2 separate regions of the Homo sapiens genome follow, and region 2 is linked to region 1. Evidence: promoter capture Hi-C in 16 types of primary human blood cells and fetal thymus (Javierre and others, 2016). All regions are on one chromosome and are shown on one strand. The core of a region is centred on a gene start or on the middle of the fragment in contact, and the rest is flanking DNA. Distances in the headings are between cores, read along the strand shown. Region 1 holds the start of BEAN1 (brain expressed associated with NEDD4 1). Region 2 overlaps BEAN1 (brain expressed associated with NEDD4 1).

Region 1 (3,991 bases), core at 1-2,500:
TTTTGAAACGAACCCAGCTTTTGACTCCCCTTGCCTCCTAAGCCCCAGTTTCCTCATCAACAGTAGTGGTTCAGAGAGTGTTAGCAACAACACATTTCATCAATTCCTGCAGCAAATTCACTGAGTGCCCACTCTGTGCAGACCCCTGCAGCCCTACCCAGACGCTGCCCTCCTGGCGCTCCCAGGCAAGTGGCGGAGGTTAAATAAATAACTCCTCCACGCTGGCGAGCACCCCAACACAGTAGGGGTGCAATCATTGGGAGCAATATCCTAATGAGGACAGGGAGGCCTGAGAGATGGGCTGGGATTCGTCCAAGGCCCCAAAGCAGGGTGGGGACAGAGCAGGTCCTGGAAGCCTGGAACCCCGGCCTGAGCCAGGCATCCCCTCGGGGCCGGCTTCCACCTGCCAGGGCTGAGCCCTATGCCCTGACGTTTGGGCAGCGGGGAACGGGGGCACAGGGAGGGTGACGGGGTGAAGGAAACAGGCCTGCTGGTGGCTCCGAAGGAAGGTTTGGGCCAGGCCTAGCTGGAATCCCAAAACTCACCTGCCAGCAACCGCGAGCGGGAAGCCCTGCCAGGCTCGCCTGCCCCTGCCAGCGGCCCAGCCACGCTGGGTCCCCCTCTCCATCCCGCACTTTGCTCTTTGCCCGCGACAGGGGTCCCCTGCTCAAATGCCCAGCCTAGCCTCGGTCCAACCTGTCTGGCTGTCCTTCCCTGACACCTCGTTTGTCTACCCTTCTCTGCACGTGTCAGTGGCTCCCCGCTCGCGTCCGTGTGTCATTCCCTACACACGCCTGTGTGTCCTCTTCACACGTCTGACTGGAGCGTCGGCCTCCCGCATTTCCCGGCCTCCTCGCCGCCCTGCCCCGCCTGCTGCTGTGTGGGTGTCGGGCTGGCTGTGCGCAAAGGGGCGCGGCTCGGCCCTCCCCCGCACCCGCGCCCCCCGCCCCGCATCTCGGAGTGACCCGGGCCGCGGCGCCGCGGTGCTGAGGCCCGGGAGCCGCGCCGCCGCCGAGGGGGGCCGGGGCCGGTGACGGTGGCGTGGGCGGCGGCGCGGGGACGACGGGCGGCCGGGCGGGGCTGCGGCAGGGCAGGGCCAGGGCCAGGGCCGGGGCCTGGGAAGCCGCCGCCGCCGCTGCCTCGGCCCGGGATCGCGGGCGGCTGGTCGGCCCGGCTCGCCTGGCCCCGCCTGGCCCGCCCCGCCCCGCCCCTGCGCGCCCAGCAGGCCGAAGCGTAGCGGCGCGCCCCCCGCGACGCCCGAGCCCGAGCGCAGTGGCCTCCGAGCGGGAACCGGACTGGGAGCCGGAGCCGGGGCGGGAACCGGAGCTGGAGCCGAAGCTGGAGCCGGCACTGCGGCGCACGGAGCGGAGCGCTGCAGCCAAGCCGAGTAAGGGGCGTGGGGCTGGGCGGCGCGGGGGAGGGGCGGGCGGGGGGTCCCGGCCCCATTCCCCCGCGCTCTGCGGTGGTACCGGCGAACGACACACCCGGGGGCGCGCCGCGCGGAGCCTCGGTGCGCGGGGCGGGCGGATGCGCGGTCCGGAACGGAACCGCAGCGCGCTCGGAACGGAGCGGGATCCCGGGTCTCCCGCGGACCCTCGACCCCGGGCTGGCCACTGGGATCTGCGCGAGCCGAGGCTGACCCTGATCGCGCCCTCGGGCCTCGGGGAAGGGGAGGTATCCAGGTTTTCTGCCTGACTCGAGTCCCCGACGAGCATCAACCGCATTTGGGGAACCCAAGACAGCCTCCCCAGCAGCTTGCCCTCGGTTTCGGGGACCCCTGAACAACCCAACCAAGAAGGGAAAACTAGGGCGCACTCTCGGTCGGGGTGGGAGAGGAAAGGGGCTGGGGCTTCACGGAGTTTGGAGTTTGAACCCACCCGCACCCCTTTGAGCTAGGAAGTTTGACCCTTCGACGAGCAGGTCGCCTGGGGTATGCCCCTGTCTCCGTGCCTCTGTCTCAGCACCGAGCGTCGGAGAGAGAGCGCGCCCTCCGCACCTTCTCCCACTTTGGGACAGACTTTCCCTTGCGCTGTCAGAGGGACCCGAGGCTGAGTACGAGGCGAGGCGGCAGGCAGCTCAGGCTGGCTGCGCAGCGCTGAGTGGCACCGCCGCCGCTCCCCAGGGGCAGGGCCCACCCCACACCCGGCTGACTCTCGCTGCCCTTCCTCCTTCCCTATCGGGCTCTGCGGTCTGGAGGCTGGAGAGCGGTGAGGACCAGGGACTGCCCTGTCCATCTCGGGCGGGTGCCGGCGTGGGTGGCGGGGCGCAGGCTGGGAAAGGGAGGGCGCAAGTAACTGGTGTGAGAGGCAGGGGTTCAGGGATCCTTGCTCTTGAGCCACGATTTCCGATGAGCCCCTGCCGAGAGCATGCCGCTCTGGACTCACTCCTCAAACATAACTGCTCTGCTGGAACGAGAGACTTCACCACCCTGTGCCTCAGTTTCCTCATCTGAAAGTAAGCAGGAGTCTGTTGTGAGCGGGATGTTTAAGGGATTTGGAACCAGAAGGTGGGCTTGGCTGACTTCCTGGCTGTACAACCTTAAGCAAGACACAAACCTCTCTGAGCCTTAGTTTCCCCATCTGGAACATGGGGAAGGTGAGTTGGGAGGATTAAATGAGATGATGCTGGTGAGGGTATGTAGCCTGGTGCCTGGCACGCAGCCAGTGGCCAATTGTGGTGGGCTACAGGTGTCCTGAGGTGTCCAGCACCAGTAGATGCTGAGATTCAGTGCCTCTGAATCTGAAGTGGTGCTCCCAGCCCCCTCCAAGGAGGCCTTTGAATTCCCCAAGCTGTTGACATTTAATTGCAAAGCAAAACTTTCTCCTTAGGGCCCACCCTTTCTCAGACGCTCCCTCCTCCAAGGCTCTCTACCGCCCAGCCCAGTTCTCCCCTGCTACCTCCCATCTCTCTCCAGGGTGAAAAGGCTGCATCTGACTGTAAGGTGCACCCTTTTCCTCCTTGCCCTTAGCTGATGTCCGCTGCCCCAGAGAGGGGCACCCACCCATTGCTCGAGCTCCGTACAAGGGAATTTAACACCTCCCTCCACTCCCGGGTGGAGGATTGCTTTCCCTGAGGAGCCATCAGGCTGTCAGGTGGCTTGGACACACCGATGGTGACGGTTCAGACAGGCAGCAAGAAGCACCAGGGAGACAGCCTAGAGGTCTGAGGGGTCCCAGCCTTGATTCTTCGCAGACTATGATGTATTCGTCCAGGCAACTGGGCCATGAGGCACCAGAAATGAAGGATGTCGGGGAGGAAATGGAGCCAGTGATTGAGAGGTTCAAACTTCAGAGCAGGGTGTCCCCAGGAAGGGATTTGCTCCAGTCTGTGTGGCTGGGACCTTAGACCCAGAGCAGAGCAGGGCATAGGCCCAGGGGATAGGGGAGGATGCTGGGATCCTGGAGGTGGCAAGGAGCGGGTGGGCGGGCAGGAGTGATGGGAAGAAAGCAGTGGTCCAGTTCACACCCATGTTGGTCCCTGGCCACCTGTGCTGTGTGGGTGTTCTGGCCCAGCTGCCCAGAACAGGGATGGGGGAGGAATCTCAGATGAGGAAACATGTCCACATGGTGCCAGGGTACACCTGGTAAGACAGGCAAGATGAGCTGCCACCTGGGGCCTCCTACACGGAATCTCCCTCTCTCCTCTTCTTCCTCTGTAGCTTCCCCCTCCCCTTCCCCATTCACCCACTAGGGGTCACGTCGCTGTGTCTTCCAAAATCCTCACTCCTCATCTTCCCAAAGGAGTTAATCAGGAACTAATTAGGCTTGAGTCTCCTGCTTCGCTCAGGATTTGGAACACAGCCAGTGGGGAATGTGACGGGGATGCAGGCATTACTGTCAGGCTTTAGGAATAATCAGCCGGACACCCTCAGAGGACCATTGTCTGAAACTCTTGCCCTGGAAGTACTCAGAGGATAGGGTGAGGGGCATCTGCTGTCAGCCTCCTAAAGGGAGAAACTGAGGCCAGGAGGGCTTCTGCAGTCCATTAGCAA
Region 2 (3,851 bases), core at 554-3,053, 34 kb after region 1:
TGTAAATGTCTGTGGATCCCACGATTGGGCTGTGGGGGTTGGGTGGGTGATGGACGGAAGGATGGGCCAATGGGTGACTGGGAGCAGCTCCCCTGGGATGCACTCAGGCACACCGTGCACACCAAGCAACCAGTCACAGACTGCCCCTGGTCCAATTCAAATGGCTCCTGAGCTTCCTCTCTGCACTGGCCCTGCCCAGTATCCTAGGCAGATGGGGTGACAAGAGAGAGAGACACAGGCCCCACCCTCCTGGTGTTCTCAGTCCCTGTGGAACCAGAGCGCTGGAGAGTGCCAGTTCAGGAATTGCAAAGAGCATTCCAGGCTCACCACTTTAACCAGCTCTGTGCTCAGCTTCCCTCTCTGTAAGATGGAGGAAAGACACTCTCCACCTCTCAGGGCTGCTGTGAAGATTAAATGAGAGAAGCATGCATGAAAAGAGTTTAGAGCCTGATGGATGTACAGTAAGTGCTGTCAGTGAGAGCTATCTTATCTTTATCATTGTTCTTCCTCAGTAAAATCACCCAAGGGTCCCTACCTGCAATCTAGAACATCTCTAGGACATACCCAGAGATAGAACAGATACAGAACAGGAGGTCCTCGCACATCCCTGGATGATTTGCTTCTCCCCAGGCACCTGCCTGCTGTGGCCCATCTCTTTCTGAGACACACAGGCTCCCATCTCTGGAATCCTGGTATCTTATGGCAATGTTCAGCTGTTGATACACCTTCATCCTGAATAGCCCCAGGTCATGGCTGGCTCTGGCTATATATCAAGTGGCTCAGAAGAAGCAAAACATCATTTTGGGGAGAAGAGCATTCTCCCTTCACAAGAGTTAAGAAACCAGAACTCCCAGTGCATGGTGCCTGGTAGCCACAGAATAGCATATTGGCTAAGAGCACAGGGCTTCAGTTTTTCACTGACCCAGGTCTCTATCTGTGGGGCTGTGTGACCTTGGGAAAGTTACTTAACCTCTCTGAGGCTGTTTCCTTACCTGTTAACTGGGGAATCCCATTATAGACCATCATGAGGATTAAATGAGATAATGTGGTGCATGACAAGTACCACGTATGGTGTAAGGCATACAATACAGTAGGTGCTCAGGAGATGGTAATTACTCATGCTGGCATTGGGGGGGAGGTGGTATCTCAGAGAAGAGCCTATTTTTTTGAGGTTTCCACTGGATCATGAGCACCTTTATAGAAACTGCTTGGGAAGAAAGTCCAGGAAGGAGGCAAAGCTTGTTTCATCTTCTATCCTTGCTGCAGCTGGTACAGGGGGACAGGGAGACCGGGGGTGGGAAGGGGGATTGTCATCATGTTATTTCTCTGCAGTCATATTTATCTTTTTGATAAAATAGGCCCTTGTTTTGGAAATTGGAAGAATTTCCCTCATAATTTAAAGCAGCGCCTACCTCTGCCGGTTGTGGTGACTGGGAGATTAATTTCCTAGCTGTCCAAGCAGGCGGATGCCTGCACCAGCTGGCTCCATCTTGCAGGCATGGGTGATGCCATCTCCCGCCCATCTGGTAATGAGCCTGGTGCTGCTAGACAAGGGCAAGGCTCTCATCTGCTGCTGACGCAGGTGAAGGGAGAGGCATCTTCAAGGTGACCCCATGGGGCTGGTCCCAGAGGCAGGTTCTGCGTGCTGTGCAGGGCAGGCAGGCGCAGACACACACACACACACACACACACACACACACACACACACACACAAACGCACGCACATCCAACTCTAGGTTTGCAATCTAAGCACCTGCAACCCTGCCATGGCCAGGGGTCATGGGGGATCATGGGGTGACCAGTGTGTCCCAACCCACATCTGGGGTCAGAAGACATTCCAGAGCCCCATCGGGGACAAGACTCTTGGAGCCAGCCCACTATTCTACAGAGTGTGAACCCCTCACACTACCCTCCCTAAGGAGGGCTGGTGTCCCTAACACTCCCAAGTCCTGCCCTGGGCTCTGAAGGTGAGAGGACGCATGACAGAGAGCAATCAGAGTGGCCATTGGCTCAGGAGTGGTAGCAGGGAGAACCGGGATCATGCTAGATGAGTGGTAGCCAAAAGCTCCATTTCATAACCAGCTCTAGCCAGTTGTAGTCACAGCATGGAGTGCTGTGTTGAGAAGGATGCTGAGTCTGCCTTCTGAACTGAACTGGAAAGAGAACCATGGTCAATTAGTAATGTCTGCCATTGGCATAGACTTAGAAAGTGGTGGCAGGTATGCTATAGATTCACCAGACAAGGACTAGATTTCTCCTAAGTTGAGGTCAAACAAGCCAAATTAAACTGACTCCATTTGCCTACAAGAAAAAGATGGAGGAGAGCCTCACCTTGCCACCTTTTCTCTGTGAGTCTTGAAGAAAAATTACAAGCTTTAGTTTACAGTAGCCAAGGGAATAAAAATTAGAGGTTGGCACTTCATCCAAAACTCAAGCTGTCACAATCAGTCAAAAAATAGAGAAGAAACTGAATTCTAGACTAATGAAGAGACAGACACAGAGCCAACTAAGTTTTCTGCAGTTCACTCAGTCACCCAACAAATATTTAATGAGCACCTATTATGTGCCCAGCACCTGGCTGGGCGCTGCAGATTCATGCAATAAAAGAGTCAGGACAAGGCCAGGGGCAGTGGCTCACACCTGTAATCCCAGCACTTTGGGAGGCCGAGGCGGGTGGATCACCTGAGGTCAGGAGTTCGAGACCAGCCTGGCCAGCATGGTGAAGCCCTGTCTCTGCTAAAAATACAAAATTAGCTGGGCATGGTGGTACATGCCTATAATCCCAGCTACTTGGGAGGCTGAGGCGGGAGAATTGCTTGAACCCAGGAGGCAGATGTTGCGGTGAGCTGAGATCGCGCCATTGCACTCCAGCCTAGGCAACAAAAGCAAAACTGTCTCAAAAAAAAAAAAGTCAGGACAGATGGGATATCTGCCTTCAAAGATCTAACAATCAAATGAGGTGGACAGGGAATCCAAAGACATCACAATTTAATAAACAAGTAAACAAATAAATAAGCAGGATGTTTAGGGATTGTGATGACTGCTGTTCAAAGAAAACACATGGCATGATATATAGTGGGGTAGAGGTCAGTCAGGAGCAACCTGTCTGAGGAGCTGACTTTTAAGGAAAGCTCTAAAGGATGAGAAAGAGGCAGCTGTGCACCATGTACTTTGCGGGACTACCATGAGTAATACTCATGAATATTCATGTACACATTTTTGTGTGGACTTATGTTTCCATTTTTCTTGGGTATATGCCTAGGAGTGCAAGTGCTGGATCATGTGATAATTATGTTTAACCATTTGAGAACTGCCAGTCTGTGTTCACAAAGCAGCTGTACCATTCTACATTCCCACCAGCAGTTTATAAGGGTTTCCATTTCTCCACATCCTCACCAACACTTGGCATTATCTGTCTTTTTGATTATAGCCATCCTACTGGGTGTGAAATGGTATCTCATTGTGGCTTTGATTTGCATTTCTCTGATGGTTAATGATGTTGGGCAACTTTTCATGTGCTTACTGGCCAATTGTATCTTCTTTGGAGAAATGTCTGTTCAGATCTTTTGACAATTTTTTTAATTGGGTTGTCTTTTTATTATTGAGTTGTAAGAGCTCTTTACATATTCTAGGTAAAAGTCCCTTATGAGATAAGTGATACACAAATATCTTCTCCGATTCTACCGACTGTCTCTTCACTTTCTTGAAGGTGTCCTTTGCTGCACTAGTTTTTAATTTTGATGTTTATCTATTTTTCTTTTGCTTCTTGTGCTTCTGGTGTCGTATCTAAGAATCATTTGCCAAATCCAAAATCATGACAACTTACCCCTATGTTTTTATCTAAGAGTTTT

Evidence for each region. Contacts are between HindIII fragments. The CHiCAGO score rates a contact against its expected background, and 5 or more counts as called.
Region 2: a fragment that was not itself captured here is called in contact with the fragment with the promoter of BEAN1 in region 1 in 12 of 17 cell types (naive CD4 T cells, total B cells, activated CD4 T cells and 9 more); the score reaches 8.4 in naive CD4 T cells.

The regions. Positions count from the first base shown.
Region 1 is chr16:66,426,045-66,430,035 of GRCh38, forward strand. It overlaps BEAN1 (brain expressed associated with NEDD4 1), which reads left to right and starts at 1,251. Exons shown (of 5, transcript NM_001178020.3): 1 at 1,251-1,387. RefSeq lists an enhancer at 2,079-2,679. The HindIII fragment of the contact is 13,321 bases long and covers 1-3,991 here.
Region 2 is chr16:66,459,902-66,463,752 of GRCh38, forward strand. All of the region lies in intron 2 of BEAN1 (brain expressed associated with NEDD4 1), which reads left to right. It also overlaps the pseudogene LOC107984807. Among named protein-coding and RNA genes, the nearest start is that of BEAN1-AS1, 15 kb to the right of the region's middle. The HindIII fragment of the contact is 1,135 bases long and covers 1,237-2,371 here.